2 separate regions of the Homo sapiens genome follow, and region 1 is linked to region 2. The links are contacts of gene promoters, found by promoter capture Hi-C in blood cells and fetal thymus (Javierre and others, 2016). All regions are on one chromosome and are shown on one strand. Each heading gives the region's core, a stretch centred on a gene start or on the middle of the fragment in contact. The rest is flanking DNA. Distances are from core to core; before and after follow the strand shown. Region 1 overlaps GDF11 (growth differentiation factor 11). Region 2 holds the start of SUOX (sulfite oxidase).

Region 1 (4,386 bases), core at 1,647-4,146, 240 kb before region 2:
ACTCCAAGCTGAGCAACACAGTAAGACACTGTCTCTAAAAATAATTAAAGTAAAATAAAAATAAGGAAAGCTCCTGTGACATCAACCTGATCCAGAATTGGGGACAGCGCTACTGCGGGTTCAATGTACTGCCATGTTTTCCCTGTCTTATCAGTTCTATCAGCACACTGACCCCACTCGAGACCAACTACAAGACTAAGGCTGGAAGTGGTTGAGTAGCAGAAGTGTTATGTATTCTATCTTCCCAAGGGAACCATATCCACATCTACCCCTAACTTTGGCCTGAGCTGAAAATGGGTTTTCTCTCCCTGTGGCTCATTTGTTTCCTATATTGAGAGAACACCCAAAAAAAGACTACTCAAGATGACTTTTTACAAGTCTTTTCTTTATCCTAAAACATCCTCCAACCGAAGGCATGGGAAGCTATCCTATACTCTGACCTTGCCTATATTTTAAATGGCAGGGGCCCCAAGCTAAGAATCAGCAGGCAGTGGCATCTACAGCTTCTGGTCTGTAGTGGCGTAGAAGCAGGAAAATCAATGCTCCAAAGCAACAATGTCCAGCTTTCCTGCCAGTGAGCTGGGCTTGAGGGAGTGAATGGGACTCTTTCTGCCTTTTCTTTTTCTCAAAATACGACTGCATTAACTGGGTGTATGCACACACAAACATGTTCAAACTAGGGCACTCATACCTAGCTAGAACCTACTCAGGGAAAGAAATATGTATTTCCACAGTACCCTGATCACCCAGTAAAAGCTAATATTTATTGAATAATTACTATGCAAATTATGGTAAGCAAATTGTAGTGTGAATACATGATATGAGAATATCACTTAATTCACACAGCAACCTTCACAATGGGGTTCCTTTTGGTACAGTCTGAAAAGAGAATGATTATCTGCGCAGGGTCTCAGAGCTAGTGTGGTAGAATAAGAAATTAAACCTAAGTAGTTGCTAAACAATATTACATTCTAATCTATCCTATTGAAAGTGATCCGGGAGGTAGAAACCTAAATACAGGAATAACATAAGGGAAAGAGATAACAAGAAAGTTAGGGACACCTTGGACTCAAAGAATCTGGAAAGATGTGAAACCTGTAATTTTAAATCCCTTTGGAAGGGAAAAACAAGAAAAGTCTAGATATGGCAAGAGAAGGGGAGGTTAAATTTTGGGGGGATTCCAATAATCAGAAATAAGTGGCATTGCCAGAGGCCCTCATATAAGAGAACAGCAAAAAAGTTATCCTCCCTTAAGTTCCTCCCTCACTCCTCATATCAGACACAGCAAGAGAACTCAGCTCAACACCAAGAAGTCCTGCCCTTATTCACACCTTCCTTCCTATAGCCCTCATCCTCACAGAAGCTTCTAGCCTCTATCTTCAGCAGTTCTTAAGAGGTGGGGTGGGGGGCTGGGCAGTTTAGAGTGAGAGTGGAAAAAAAGAATAATCCTAGAGAACCATAAAAAAGTACAGATTTACAGCTGAGGAAGCTAGTTCTCCCCACAGCTTTTATAGACTCCCTCATTAAGAGCTTCCAGGTATGCAGAGAATGTCACAGCTTCAGGAATTGGAATCAGTTAACCACATCTGGATGCTGGATCAACTATAGTAGGGAAACGGGGAGAGGAAGGAAGGGTACTAAGATCTCAGGTAAACAATTACAAGCCTCAATGTCTGTTCCATCTCCAAACGGAATTACTATTTTAAAACTGAATTGGGAAAAAGGCATCCTGAACTATTCATGCTCAAAGAGTATGTGGAGAATGACTATAATGAGATAGGAAGGGGAGGACTTCATCTGGCTTGGAGGTTAGAGACTTCTGACCAACATAGGAACAGCTGCTGAAATGGGATGAAAGAGGTTAATAAGAAAAAAAAAAAAATCCTCACAAATTGGAAAACACTGTTCAAAGATCTAGGGGAAGTAAGATGAGTGAGGAGAATAATTAGGCTTCAAGAAGAGAATCCTGGCAAGTAAGGCTGAATATCTTTCTGGAAGGTTATAGAGGATAAAGAGACGAAGAAAACTTCCAAAAGATCCACTGTTCCACTTCATAATCAGCATCTGCTCTATTCCCTCATGTATTTTTCTCTTTTTAAAACCATATTCAGGAAGAAACCATTAGTGAATCTATAATCTCTCAAGTTACAAATCAGATCTATTCTGTTTTCAGATGAAGGCAGAGTAGAGAGAGGAAAAGCTAGCCCCAAGATCAGAGCCTGAGGTAAAGAAAAGGAAGGCAGACAGAAAAGAGGGAAAAGGGAAGGTCATTCCAATTTTAAGGTTTATTTGGTTGAAGAGGTGTCAAAAATTTAACCAGCATTCCCTTTTGTTCACTTCTCCAAAGTCTCAGAATGGGGCAAACTTCACAACAAATGGGCAGCAGTTTTTGGATCTGCTCTCCAAGGCACAATTTTTCTAAATTATCTAAACTTTAGGTCCCTGCTTTCCTCACCAACCAGAGACTTTGGAGAAATAAAGAGATATCTTGACATTAGAAAGGTGATCAAACTATTACCATTTCATTAAGCACAAAACCAGGCAGGTTTTAGTAGAAATAAGGATAAAGGATTACACCACAGCAACATGGGACCTGATCATAGTACCAAAGTCTTCAGGTAAGGTGTCAGGCTCCTAAGTCTTATTACCAAAAATAGCTCAAACAAAAACCGAGCTTATATAAAGATTAAGAGGAGAAATTCTGCAATAACATATCCAAAAAGATTAAGCAGGTTTCAGATCTACATGAACTTGAAGCCTCCAGTTCCACTGCTTATGTTCCCAATGATTTAGCTAACAATGCGTAACAGCTCTGACATCCTCTGTCATGCTTTGATTCTGCATACAAAATTTCTTCTGTCTCTGAGGGATATCCAGCCCATCTCCCTTCCTGAACTGACTGACCAACATAGTATCGTATCACATCACCCTTGAAATCAGGGCCCTTTTCCTTTAATGTGGGACCCTGGACTCCATTTTATCCAAGAAAAAGTCTGCATTATTAGCTAATAACAGAAGGCTACTAATCACTGCCCTTGTATTTATATCCTTTGCAACACCTAAAACCTCCCATGTTCTGTTTTATTTCAGTGGGTCACTACAAGCTGCTGGAGCAAAGACTTGGTGGGTGGGTAACTTAACCTCTTCACAGAGGATAAAAAATGCTTGTGAGTATGACAGAAGGGAATAAACAGGCTTAAAGGGTAAACTCAGTCCTTTTCCTTGTCTTCTCTTCTAAGGGATAAAGGTATTATGGCCAATTCTCTATAATATTTGCCCCTGAAGCTCCCCTTATCTGGTCTAATCTAGCTCCAATAAATCAAAGGAGCACCTAATAAAACACATTGTTCTCTTTTCTATTTTTTTTTATTAACAAGCAACATAATCAAAAACAAAAACACAACAACCTTAAAGCTGAAACAGCAATAAGTCAAACTGCTGCCGCAGTTCATGGATGTACCTGGGGTACATGCTCCCTCATTGCGAGGCAGGACGTAGGCACATGACTGTGCATTTAGGCATATATGTGACCAAGAAGAAGGAGAGAAATGGAAAACACTGGAGAACAGAAAGTATCAGGAACTTTTCATCAGGCAATCCCAAAGCGCTCTGCTCTTTTCCTCTTCTTTGCCTGTAAAGAAGAAGCAAGAAGAAAAAAATTAGACTGAAGACAATAGTTGCCTGGGTTCCTGGCTGCTTTAATCCAAACTCACATGAACTGTCACAAGGCCCGAGAAGGAAGGATGGCCCAGACTTGAGCTTGGTAGCTAGAGATTTCATTCCTGAATCTCTCCAATCCTTCCAGTTATCCAGTAGGAGCTGGAAAGTTTAATGGGTAAGGAGGGTGAGGAGTAAAGAAGATTACTGGGGGTGAGGGACAGAGAGAAGAACAGTGGTAGAAAATGGGAAGATTCCTGAAGCAAAGAGAGCCACTCAGCCTGAGATCAAGCTAGCCTGGAAACAATGGGCTCTTAACAGGCTGGGAAAAGTCTTCCAGTCAATGGGGAGACGGAAGATTTCAGAGGATAAAGGATTAACCAATGCTATTCATAGAGGTGAAGGAGATGCCCTTCTGAGCAGTCAGGCCCAGACAGTAGCTATTCCTTAGGACTCCAACCCACAAAAAAGGCATATAAATCTTTGATGCCAACAGAACGAATAGGGAGTGAGTGGTATGTGGGTGAGTCCCTATCATAGATCTCTTAAAGGAGACAGCAACACTGGAGAGGACACAAAATGGTGAGGGAAGACTTCTGGTTCTGGAAGTGACTCACAGAACAGCACCAAGTCCTTCATGGGCACTCCCAACCACTGCCCCTAGCAGAATACAAACTCCTCTGGCTTTTTTCTAGTGAAGAGTGTTAGCTGATCTGACTCTAAAATTTT
Region 2 (4,931 bases), core at 1,980-4,479:
GACTGCCTTCTATCCCAGAACAGCTGAGAAATCTATGAAGCTGAGATTCTGAAGGACCCAGCTTAGGTTCTTCCACTTAGGCCTCAATTCCCTTCCTTTTCCAGGGGCAGCCTTAGTTCCCATGGCCCTGAAACACACACATTTCCCCCTTCCTTTCCCAGAAGCCACTGGCCCCCCATAGCACCCAGTGCATCCTTTTTACAAGTGGAAGAACTAGGATGGCTTTCCAAAGTCTTCTAGAAATGAAGTTCTTTCTCTGTGCAGCTTTCCCCCTTGGAGCAGGAGTGAAGATGTTTCATTATCTTGGGCCTGGGAAACCACTTCCCCAGGCTTCTCCCTCCCCCCACCCCCATAGGAACAGGATTTGGCCTTAGCTTCTGGGCCTATCGGCTGCCTTCCCTCTACTTCCTACCACCTCTTCTGCCTTCCTTTGAGCTCTGTTGGGCTTGGGGATCTTAGTTTTCTTTTGTTTATTTCCCAGCTCATTTTTTTCTTCTGGTCAGTTTTTTTAAGGGGGGGTGTTGTGGTTTTTTGTTTTTGTTTTGCTTCTGAGAAAGCATTTGCCTTTCTTCCTCTCCCAACATAACAATCGTGGTAACAGAATGCGACTGCTGATTTACCGATGTATTTAATGTAAGTAAAAAAAGGAAAAAAAGAAAAGGGCATTGGAGTGTTGCTTTTTTTTATTTTATTGTTATTATTATTATTATTTTTGCTATTTGTCAGGTACTAGGAATTTGGAAGAAAGGATACCCAGTAATGTTCTACTGAATCAGAAACACACCTTTCCCTGCATCTTGATACATCTTTATTCCCTTTAATCTTTTCTTAAACATCTAGTTTAGAAAATAGCCCTTCTATTGCTATTTAATCACCCCTCTTCTAAGGCCACTAGATTGTTCATCAAATCAAACCCTATTATATCTTTTTAGGCCCTCTTAACAGAATGTATATGTGTAGGGTATGGTCTGTGGATCTTTGGGCCCACTGATCAGATTAGAGAGAGGGGTGCTATTTGAAGTAGTATACAAAAATGTATGTGCATATTTCTTTTTTTTTTTTTAATTGAGACGGAGTCTCTGTCGCTAGCCTGGAGTACAGTGGCACGATCTTGGCTCACAGCAATCTCCGCCTCCTGAGTTCAAGTGATTCTCCTGCCTCAGCCTCCTGAGTAGCTAGGATTACAGGCACGCACCAACACACCCAGCTAATTTTTGTATTTTTAGTAGAGACGGGGTTTCACCATGTTGGTCAGGCTGGTCTTGAACTCCTGACCTCGTGATCCACCCACCTTGGCCTCCCAAAGTGCTGGGATTACGGGCGTGAGCCACTGCGCCCGGCCGTATGTGCATATTTCTAGGATCCATTTCTATATGTTTCTCAAAGGGGTCCATGACCCAAAGGTTGAAAAACATCACTGAGTTAGTTTTCTTGTAGCTTCCACCTCAACGGGAAAATTTCCTCTGGATCTGCTCTTGACTCCTAGTGTACTTCAAACCCTTCAGTCCACCACAGTCTAAAGGTCGAGGGAAGGGAAATGAAATAGGATTATGTGTGGTTGCAGTAGGCTTTAAATTCCAAAGAATCTGAAGGTGGATAGGAAAGAGGACTGGTGCCAGACAAATCTGACATTCTAGGCCTGTCTCTGTCAACTTAACCAGCTGTGGCCTTGATCAAGTTAGTTAGTGCCTTCCGCCTCGTTTCTTCATCTGTAAAGTAAAAGCTGAAGATTAAGGTCAATTATGTAAAGTATGTGTGTCACACAAAAGTAGATGACACTATTAGGAAGGAGGCTTTTAGATAGTCCCTAACTGACTTCTCTGTATCTTCCTTTGGCTGAGACTTTTTTTTTTTTAGGTTGAAGCTCGCTTTCTCTCTCTCTCCCTCTTTCTCCCTCTCTCTCTCTCTCTCACTCTCTCTCTCTCCATATATATATACATATATATATATATATATATTTTTTTTTTAACAACTGGTAGGATAGGTTGGGCATTAGCCTTCTTCAGTGATTTGATTGTATACAGATTGAAATCCTTTCCATTTCCAAACACTTAAGAGCCAAAGCCAACTTGCCAACTTTTCACTGTCGGTTCCCTTACCTTATATCTCTTGGTAATACCCCCCACCCCCGTTCCCTGATTCCTGGTAAAAGCTCTAGTTGGAGAGCCGAAAGGAAAGGAAATGATCTTTCAAAATTAAAGGTGAACACCTTCACTTAAACTGATTAAAATTGCAGCTCCACCGTCCGGCCTCTAGAGGGCAGTGTATGGATACATTTGTCCAGATTGGGGGACTAGGTTTGATAAATTTTGTCCTGCATCAAATGACAAAAGGGTAATAGGAAATGTATTATATTTATGCCCCTTACTTTGAGATAAGAGACTACAACCTTCATACTTCGGGGTGTTAAGCTGCCATTGCTCTTGTTAAGGGGCAGTTTGTTTTTTAAGAGATGGGGTCTTGCTCTGTTGTCCAGGCTGGAGTGCAGTGCCGCGATCTTGGCTCAGTGCAACCTCGAACTCCTGGGCTTAAGCGATCCTCCCGCCTCAGCCTCCCGAGTACTGGGACTACAGGCGTGTGCCACCAAGGGGCGATTATTATTTTTTTTTTCTACGCAAAATAAAAGACGGCTATTCAGTGTTGTTGTTTCATTTTTGTTTGGGGAGAAATTCGACTAGCCCAAGGAATCTCAAATTCTTGGAACCACTATTTTAGGCATTTCTGTTATCATTCCTGGAATACGAGAACTAAGCGATTGACTTTGCTTTCCCTAAAAGATAAACAGGGTAGTTGTAGTTGCAACAGAGTAGATAGAGGTAGGTCTACCCTGGGTTTAAAGTGGAGATCACAGCCGGGGAAAACCGGACTGGATCCCGAGGCCTCCTCCAGGGAGGGGCGGCAGGGGTGTCTCAAAATCTCCCACCTGTCAGCCCAACTTTTGGATTCCTTGTCACCTTCCACACTGCCCGAGCTCCGGACATACAGCCCTGGTGCACAAGGGTCCCATTCTTTGCACACCAGGGGTATAATGGACTCCGGACTGTTGGCGAGAGTGACAGCAAAAAGAGCCAGCCTCTTCTCCCAGGCTTCTTAGCAACCTGCCTGTCTCGGCTCCAGGAGGCGGGTTCCAGCCAATGGTTGAGCCACCCGCTTCCAGCCAATGGCTGAGGGATAAGCTGAGGGGAGTGAGAGGTCACTTACTGCAGCCGGACATAACGGCGCTGGCCCCGCCCCTTCTCGAGAACTCGCAGAGCTGGGCTGGTAAAATTGCAGTGCTGAAGACACTGGACCCGGTAAGGAGACTGGGGGTGGTAAAGAAGCTGGGGAGGAAGGGCTGCTGAGCTGGGCAGCGGAGGGGGCCTTGGTGTCCAGCTGTGCTCCGAACCTCAAGGGCAACAAAACTATCAGTACCTGCCTCCACTCCTTCTGTCTGGGTGCTCTTGAGATCGCGGGGTGTTGCCGCAAGACCCTTTTGTGCCTGGATGCCGGACGTATGTTCCTACCTAACGTGCCCATGGGGAGTGAGGGGTCATCACCTGCACCAACGGGTGGCATTTCTGTATTACAGCAAAAGGCTGTCCCTCCCAAACCTGGGATTCTGGGCTCACTGAGTTCACCTGCGAGTCAGCCCTACCTGCACTGCTCTGGTCTAGTACAAACAGGCTGCTGGCATTGAGGTAGGTGGCAGAGAGAGTAATGGTCCCATGGCCCAGGGGCAAGGTGAAGACTGCTCCTATTCCCATCTCTAGGTTTCCTTTCCTCCCTACCCACGACCCACCCACCCCAGCACATTGGTCTCCAGCATCTCATCAGCAGTTTAGACATTTGTCACCCCTCCTCACTTTGGCCCTGCTGGGTCAGTGCTCTCTGTTCAGCAATTTGAGGAAGAAACTTGCAGGGCAGAGAGCAGAAAAATTACCTTCCTTCTCCAGCCTGCCCCTGACACTCTGGCCATTAACTCCTCAATTTGCTGAGCTCACTACAGTGGCACAGAGAAGATTGAGGTGGTCCGGGACCCTAGGTTGGGGTCCAGTTCCCAGCTGGGTTCAATTTTTTTTAGGGTGAATGGAGGGAGAGTTGGGGACTGAAAAGCCTTCAAAGACAATGTTATTACAGCAGTCTCCCCTTATCCAAAGTTTCCTTTTCCTGAGTTTCAGTTAGCTATGGTCAACCGCTTGGAAAATAGTTGAACACAGTACAATAAGATATTTTGAGGCTGGGAGTGGTGGCTCATGCCTGTAATAATCCCAGGACTTTGTGAGACCAAGTTTGAAGGATCACTTGAACCCAGGAGTTTGAGACCAGCCTGGGCAACATAGTAAGACCTCATCTCTACAAAAAAAAAAAAAAAAAGACCATGCATGGTGGCACACGCCTGTGGTCCCCGCTACTCAGGAGGTTGAGGCAGGAGGATGGCTTGAGCCCAGAAGTTTGATGCTATAGTGAGCTGAGATCACGCCACTGCACTCCAGCCTGGGCAGAGCAAGACCCTGTCAGGGGCAGGGGGAGGGGAGGGGAAGCCGGACAGTGGCTCATGCCTGTAATCCCAGCACTTTGGGGGCTAAGGCAGCAAGAGGCCAGGAGTTCAAGACCAGCCCTGACAACATAGACTCCCATGTCTACAGAAAAATTAGCCAGGCTTGGTGACACACACTTGTAGTCCCAGCTGCTGGGGAGGCTAAGGCAGGAGGATGGCTTGAGCCCAAGAGGTTGAAGCTTCAGTGAGCCATGATCGACACTTGCTCCATCGCCCAGGCTTTTTTTTTTTTTGAGACAAGGTCTTGCCCTGTTGCCCAGGCTGGAGTACGGTGGCGCCATCATAATTCATTGCAGTCTCGACCTCCTGGACTCAAGCCATCCTCTCATCTCAGCACTCCTCTCCCCACCACCCCGGTAGCTGAGACTACAGACAGGCACCACCATGCCCAGTT

What was found. Contacts are between HindIII fragments. The CHiCAGO score rates a contact against its expected background, and 5 or more counts as called.
Region 1: a fragment that was not itself captured here is called in contact with the fragment with the promoter of SUOX in region 2 in 13 of 17 cell types (naive CD8 T cells, endothelial precursors, non-activated CD4 T cells and 10 more); the score reaches 9.3 in naive CD8 T cells.

The regions. Positions count from the first base shown.
Region 1 is chr12:55,753,923-55,758,308 of GRCh38, forward strand. GDF11 (growth differentiation factor 11) reads left to right here. Exons shown (of 3, transcript NM_005811.5): 3 at 1-3,342. It overlaps SARNP (SAP domain containing ribonucleoprotein), which reads right to left. Exons shown (of 11, transcript NM_033082.4): 11 at 3,348-3,631. The coding sequence ends at 3,590. Among named protein-coding and RNA genes, the nearest start is that of GDF11, 13 kb to the left of the region's middle. The HindIII fragment of the contact is 3,070 bases long and covers 1,362-4,386 here.
Region 2 is chr12:55,994,047-55,998,977 of GRCh38, forward strand. It overlaps SUOX (sulfite oxidase), which reads left to right and starts at 3,230. Exons shown (of 5, transcript NM_001032386.2): 1 at 3,230-3,293; 2 at 3,569-3,677. RAB5B (RAB5B, member RAS oncogene family) reads left to right here. Exons shown (of 6, transcript NM_002868.4): 6 at 1-2,637. RefSeq lists an enhancer at 3,004-3,504 and a silencer at 3,090-3,279. The HindIII fragment of the contact is 7,616 bases long and covers 1-4,714 here.